Linked DNA regions of Homo sapiens: region 2 is linked to region 1. The links are contacts of gene promoters, found by promoter capture Hi-C in blood cells and fetal thymus (Javierre and others, 2016). All regions are on one chromosome and are shown on one strand. Each heading gives the region's core, a stretch centred on a gene start or on the middle of the fragment in contact. The rest is flanking DNA. Distances are from core to core; before and after follow the strand shown. Region 1 holds the start of TSFM (Ts translation elongation factor, mitochondrial). Region 2 overlaps RAB5B (RAB5B, member RAS oncogene family).

Evidence for each region. Contacts are between HindIII fragments. The CHiCAGO score rates a contact against its expected background, and 5 or more counts as called.
Region 2: a contact is called between a fragment that was not itself captured here and the fragment with the promoter of TSFM in region 1, in 1 of 17 cell types (monocytes). The highest score is 5.7, in monocytes.

The regions. Positions count from the first base shown.
Region 1 is chr12:57,781,078-57,784,201 of GRCh38, forward strand. It overlaps TSFM (Ts translation elongation factor, mitochondrial), which reads left to right and starts at 1,710. Exons shown (of 6, transcript NM_005726.6): 1 at 1,710-1,781; 2 at 2,033-2,206. The coding sequence starts at 1,725. EEF1AKMT3 (EEF1A lysine methyltransferase 3) reads left to right here. Exons shown (of 3, transcript NM_015433.3): 3 at 1-1,464. RefSeq lists enhancers at 1,471-2,340, 1,694-1,763. The HindIII fragment of the contact is 6,425 bases long and covers 1-3,124 here.
Region 2 is chr12:55,988,576-55,991,699 of GRCh38, forward strand. It overlaps RAB5B (RAB5B, member RAS oncogene family), which reads left to right. Exons shown (of 6, transcript NM_002868.4): 3 at 1,372-1,523; 4 at 2,107-2,229; 5 at 2,785-2,878. Among named protein-coding and RNA genes, the nearest start is that of SUOX, 7.1 kb to the right of the region's middle. The HindIII fragment of the contact is 2,234 bases long and covers 336-2,569 here.

The DNA.
Region 1 (3,124 bases), core at 460-2,959:
AGACAGGGTCTCACTCTGTCATCCAGGCTGGAGTGCAGTGGTGTGATCACAGCTCACTGCAGCCTCAACCTCTGAAGGCCCAGATGATCTTCCTGCCTCAGCTCCCCAAGTAGCTGGGACTAGAGGCATGCGCCACCACACCCGGCTAATTTTTGTATTTTCAGTAGAGACAGGGTTTCGCCATGTTGCCCAGGGTGGTCTCAAACTCCTGGGCTCAAGTGATCCACCCGCCTTGCCTCCCAAAGTGCTGGGATTGCAGGCATGGCCCACTGTGCTAGCCTAGGATTTTTTTTTTTTTTTAAGAAAGAATTAAGCCTTAAAAATCTATTGTGCAAGAACCCAACTTTTACTCAGGAGCTGAGAAGGAAGAAGCCTCAAACCACCCATTTCCTGCTTTTTAGAGATAGAGTCTAGTGGAACCATGGCTCTAACTGGGTCAAGTCCTCCTAGCTCTGAAGCTAAGGCTGCAGAGCTGTCCTTTGGACTGTATTTCTTCATGCTTTCCAGAGTTAGAGCCTTGATCACGGAACATCATTGTGTGCAGAAGAATACTGTACCTAGTACTAAGTTCTTTTCATCTTTGATTTTTCTTTAGCTTCATCAGTCCTTCCTTCCTAATCTCTAATCCCCTGAAGCCTAACACAGTTCCTAATGTGTTTTGCCTTAACCTCTTTTCTCTTCCCACATTGGTACTTCTGGTTGGGGCTCTCTTTACTTACTGCTTAGGCACATAGTCACCTTCTCTGGACTCCCTGCTTCCATGCTTTCTCCTTCAGTCCATTCCGCAAACTCTTGTGATCTTCCAAAATTAGCTCTGATTAGCTTTCACTTCCTGTAGAAGCAAGAACAAGCTCCTCTGCTTGGTACTTAGTCTGTGTCCATGTGATCCAAAATTACCTTCCTATTGCATTTCCTACTCCTTTGCTACGTGTATTGGACCTCTGGCCAAATTACAAAAGATGTACTCTTTGTTCTCTAAAACCACACTAAAGTTTTCTGACTTCTTTCACACTCTTTATGATAATCCTCTGCCTGAAAGGCTATTGCCACCTGTCAAAATCTTCATTATTCTTTGCCTCTTTCCTGAGCCTCTTGCTTGAATGTGATTTCTTTCTCCCTGAGACCCATAAGGTTCATCTTATGGGACCTTAATTTGTCTTGCATGGACATTTGTGATTCTCATTTTCTCACCATTAAATTACCTTGGAGGGTAGGGCTGTGGTTTACTCCTGTCTAAACCCCTGAAGCCTAACACAGTTCCTGGCACACAACAGGTGTTCAACAGATATTGTGCTCATTCAATAAATATTTACTCGCTTTGTTTAATGGATTCCACCCCTGCCTTCCTAGGTGACCTTGGACAAATTCTCGAACCCATTCACCAACCACACAAGTTTGTTGTGAGTCATAAATGGATAATGAATATAAATGCGCATTGAAAATAAACATAAAATGTTACCCACATTTCTTGTGTTGTTGTTTTGTGACGACTTTATTTCTTGGTTTCTGTTATTTTACCTGGGGTGGGAGGTGGGGGGTAATTCCCGTATGAAATGTGTCGTCTCAAGAAATCAAGTAGAGGCGAGGACTGTGTTCCTCCGGCCAGCAGGTGGCACCATACTCGTTTGGTGCGTTCCGCTGGAGAATTCTGGCCCTTCCGCCGCGCCGTAGGTTTGTTGCCTCACCAGTGCGCCCGCCGGAGGGTGTTTATCGCGGCTAGAGAGATGTCGCTGCTGCGGTCGCTGCGCGTGTTTCTGGTCGCGCGGACCGGGAGCTACCCGGTGAGAAGTCCTGGTGCTGGTACCGACCTGCTGTCCCTGCAGCTCTCCTGTGCGCCTGTACCTTTCCCTTCCTCCCAACCTCGTTTGACTCCATCTCACCTTCCCCGACAGCATTGCCTCTGCCCAGTCCAGCCCCGGTGCACCCCCCTTTGCACACTGTCCGCTCCCTAAGGTCGCTTCCCTGCCCGTGTACCCTTCACCCTCTGGAGTTTGCTGCTTCCTGCTCCTCATCCCTTTCTTATCTCATCTAGGCTGGGTCTCTTCTGCGTCAGTCGCCCCAGCCAAGGCACACATTTTATGCTGGGCCCCGTCTGTCTGCCTCGGCCTCCAGCAAGGAGCTCCTCATGAAGCTGCGGCGGAAAACAGGCTACTCCTTTGTAAATTGCAAGAAAGCTCTGGAGACTTGTGGCGGGGACCTCAAACAGGTGTGTGTGTGGAGGGGTGCAGGGCGGAGTACTAGAGCTCGACCTCAGACTCTTGGGGCGGTCACGCTGGGGAGCATAAAGTTAGACTGCTCTTCAGTGACCATAATGGCACAGTCCTAAGTGGAAATCTGGCTTAAATGACAACCTTGGCCTTGACTTTGTCTTATTTGAAAGCAGTTGAGTATCCCAGGATTAACAAACCAGACTGTTACGGTGTTTCTTGTTGCCTGGAGCTGAAAGGGTTTGTGTGAGCTTTGGAGTCAGATTGTTCAGGAGTCAAATTGTGGGGCCCCCACACTGTCTGACTTTAGACTTTTTTTTTTTTTTTCAGACGGAGTCTTGCTCTGTGGCCCAGGCCGGCGTGCAATGGCACGATGTTGGCTCACTGCAACCTCCGCCTCCCGGGTTCAAGCGATTCTCCTGCCTCAGCCTCCTGAGTAGTTGGGATTACAGGCGTGCGCCACGACACCCGGCTATTTTATTTTTTATTTTTTATTTTTTTTTGTATTTTTAGTAGAGATGGGGTTTCGCCGTGTCGGCCAGGCTGGTCTCGAACTCCTGGCCTCAGGTGATCCGCCCGCCTCGGCTTCCCAGAGTGGTGGGATTACAGGAGTGAGCCACCGCGCCCGGCTGACTTTAGACATCTTAATCTTTCAGAGTTGTGTAGTTTTTGCCTGTACGGTCATGCGTCTCTTAATAGGAAGATACATTCTGAGAAATGGCGTCGTTAGGAGATTTTGGCTTATGCACATCATAGAGTACCTACACAAACCTAGATGGTATATTGTACTACAACCTGGGCTATATGGAATTGCCAGCTGCTCCTAGGCTACAAACCGTTACAAAATGTTACTGGACTGAATACTGTAGGCAGTTGTAACACAGTGGTAAGTATTGTGTATCTAAACATAGAAAAAG
Region 2 (3,124 bases), core at 203-2,702, 1.8 Mb before region 1:
TCATTGCAACTTCTGCCTCCCAGGTTCAAGTGATTCTCGTGCCTCAGCCTCCTGAGCAGCGGAGATTACAGGCACATACCACCATGCCCGGCTAATTTTTGTATTTGTATAGAGACAGGGTTTCACCGTGTTGGCCAGGCTGGTCTCAAACTCCTGACTTCAAGTGATCCACCCGCCTCGGCCTCCCAAAGTGCTGGGATTACAAGCATGAGCCACCGTGCCTGGCCTCTTTCCCCTTTTTATTAGTCATCTTGGAAATGTATTCCTGGACCTGCAGCAGATTATATGAAAAAGTAACAGCCAAATAATATTGATAATGATGGGACTTGCCATCAAGCTTTAAAATCTTCTAATTAATTCTTTTTTTTTTTTTTTTTTTTTTTGGATACTGAGTCTCACCCTGTTGCCCAGGCTGGAGTGCAGTGGTGCAGTGGTTGCCCATTGCAACTTCCGCTTCCCCAGTTCAAGCACTTCTGCTGCCTCAGCCTCCCAAGTAGCTGGAATTACAGGCGTCCATCACCATGCCTGGTTAACTTTTGTGTTTTTAGTAGAGGCGGGGTTTCACTATGTTGGCCAGGCTGGTCTCGAACTCCTGACCTCAAGCCATCCACCTGCCTTGGCCTCCCAAAGTGCTGGGATTACAGGCATGAGCCACTGCGCCCAGCCAATCCTCTAATTAATTCTTTTGTTTGTTTGCGTTTGTTTGTTTGTTTTTTGAGACGGAGTTCCGCTCTTGTTGCCCAGGCTGAAGTGCAGTGGCGCCATCTTGGCTCACTGCAACCTCCACCTCCCAAGTTCAAGGGATTCTCCAGCCTCAGCCTCCCGAGTAGCTGTGATTACAGGTGTCCACCACCACGCCTGGCTAATTTTTGTATTTTTAGTAGAGACGGGTTTTGCCGTGTTGGCCAGACTGGTCTCGAACTCCTGACCTCAGGTGATCCACCTGCCTCAGCCCCCACCTCCCAAAGTGCTGGGATTACAGGCGTGAGCTACCGTGCCCAGCCCAATCTTCTAATTAATTCTTGATGTGACTTTTATCTGAAGCTATTTTCTCTGTCATTTGTTATTCTCCTATTTTGGTTAGAAGAAGGATGACTCGTATAAGTGCCAGTTCTTCTGTCCCTCTTAGTTTATGATGTACCCCCATTCCTTAGCTAGTGACATTTCTGGCAGGAAGGACTTAGCCAAGGGCAGTCTTAATCCTGGTTTCAAGACTTACATGTAAGGAGAACTCAAAACCTTTTCCTGTAGCTGACTATCCTGGGTGGTGACTGGTCTTAGTGTAGGGCAGTTACATTTTGAAGGGGGGGAGGGATGTTCCCATTCATCCTCCCACTTACAGCATCTTCCCCTCCATTCTCTCATCCATAGCGGCCTTCCTCACCCAGTCCGTTTGTCTAGATGACACAACAGTGAAGTTTGAGATCTGGGACACAGCTGGGCAGGAGCGATATCACAGCTTAGCCCCCATGTACTACAGGGGTGCCCAAGCTGCAATCGTGGTTTACGACATTACTAATCAGGTAAGTGAGCTAAGAAGACTGTCCTTGTTGGCTGGACATGGTGGCTTACGCCTATAATCCCAACACTTTAGGATGCCAAGGCGGGAGGATCATGAGGTCAAGAGATTGAGACCATCCTGGCCAACATGGTGAAACCCCGTCTCTACTAAAATTACAAAAATTAGTTGGGCGTGGTGGTGCGCGCCTGTAGTCCCAGCTACTCGGGAGGCTGAGGCAGGAGAATCGCTTGAACCCAGGAGGCGGAGGTTGCAGTGAGCCGAGATCGAGCCACTGCACTCTAGCCTCGGCGACAGAGCAAAACTCCGCCTCAAAAAAAAAAGAAAAAAGACTGTCCTTGCTTATATTTAGAGGAGTTAGTTTGGGGCAGGGGGTAAGGGGGCAGAAAACGGGTTCTTGAAATAGCAAATAAGAGTACAAATTATGCTTCCAAGTGCTAAGAAGACAGATAATGAATTATCAGAGACCTGTGGTTTCACTGAGGGAAGACCACCTAGAAGAGGTGAATTTTGAGACTCATTTTAAAAGGTGATGGATATGGATTGGCAGTCATTCCAGCCTACTCATTCTCTTCATGTTTTCCTAGGAAACCTTTGCCCGAGCAAAGACATGGGTGAAGGAACTACAGCGACAGGCCAGTCCTAGCATCGTTATTGCCCTGGCAGGGAACAAAGCTGACCTGGCCAACAAACGTATGGTGGAGTATGAAGTAAGGTGGCCCGTGGAGTTCCTCTCTAACACTTCCTCTGTTCCTGGGACCTCTTTTTTTCCAAACCAGCCCTCTCTGAAAACGTCAACAGAGGACATTCATTGTCTCATTCCCCAGTTCTACACCAAGTTAAATACAGCAACACTGTGACCCTAATGACAGCCAGGAGATTTTCAAAGGAGTCAGGAGAAAACTCCAGAGCAGAGGGTTAGGGAGGTACCAGCTGTGGGGGTACCAGTGTGAAAACAGGAAGGAGGGAGCAATTAAATTTGTGGTAAGGGACTATTCAAGTGTCACAACCCAAAAGCCCCCAACTAACTTACCCTCTCCCCTATAATTAAGCTTTCTGACATTTGTGTGTTGGACTGAGTGGACATGGGGTCATCTTGAGGGAGTTGTCATTAAATTATGCATCTAGGCTAGCTGGCTCAAAGGGGTATTAATTAAGGGGAGGGAACCTAGGATTTTGCCTAGCTGTTGTGCTGCATGGGAGTGGAAAGGCAATACTCGTTCCCACCCTACATTCTGAGCACTAATACATCCCACTCCTTGCAGGAGGCCCAGGCATATGCAGATGACAACAGCTTATTGTTCATGGAGACTTCAGCCAAGACAGCTATGAACGTGAATGATCTCTTCCTGGCAATAGGTAAGGTCAGAACATCCTGAGGTCCTCCTTTTTCCCTCGTTTATAGGCAAAATTATAGCTAACCCAAATCAAGGATAGGTGCGAGTATCTCCTTTTGCAAAAACTTTAGGTATGGAAATACCTTAACTTTCTGTTATGACCTCCATCCTTGGCTGCAGCTTTAGCTCCCTTGTCTTCAATGTGTAAGTTTGCCGGCCAGGTGTGGTGGCTAACACCTGTAATCCCAGCATTTTGGGAGGCCGAGGC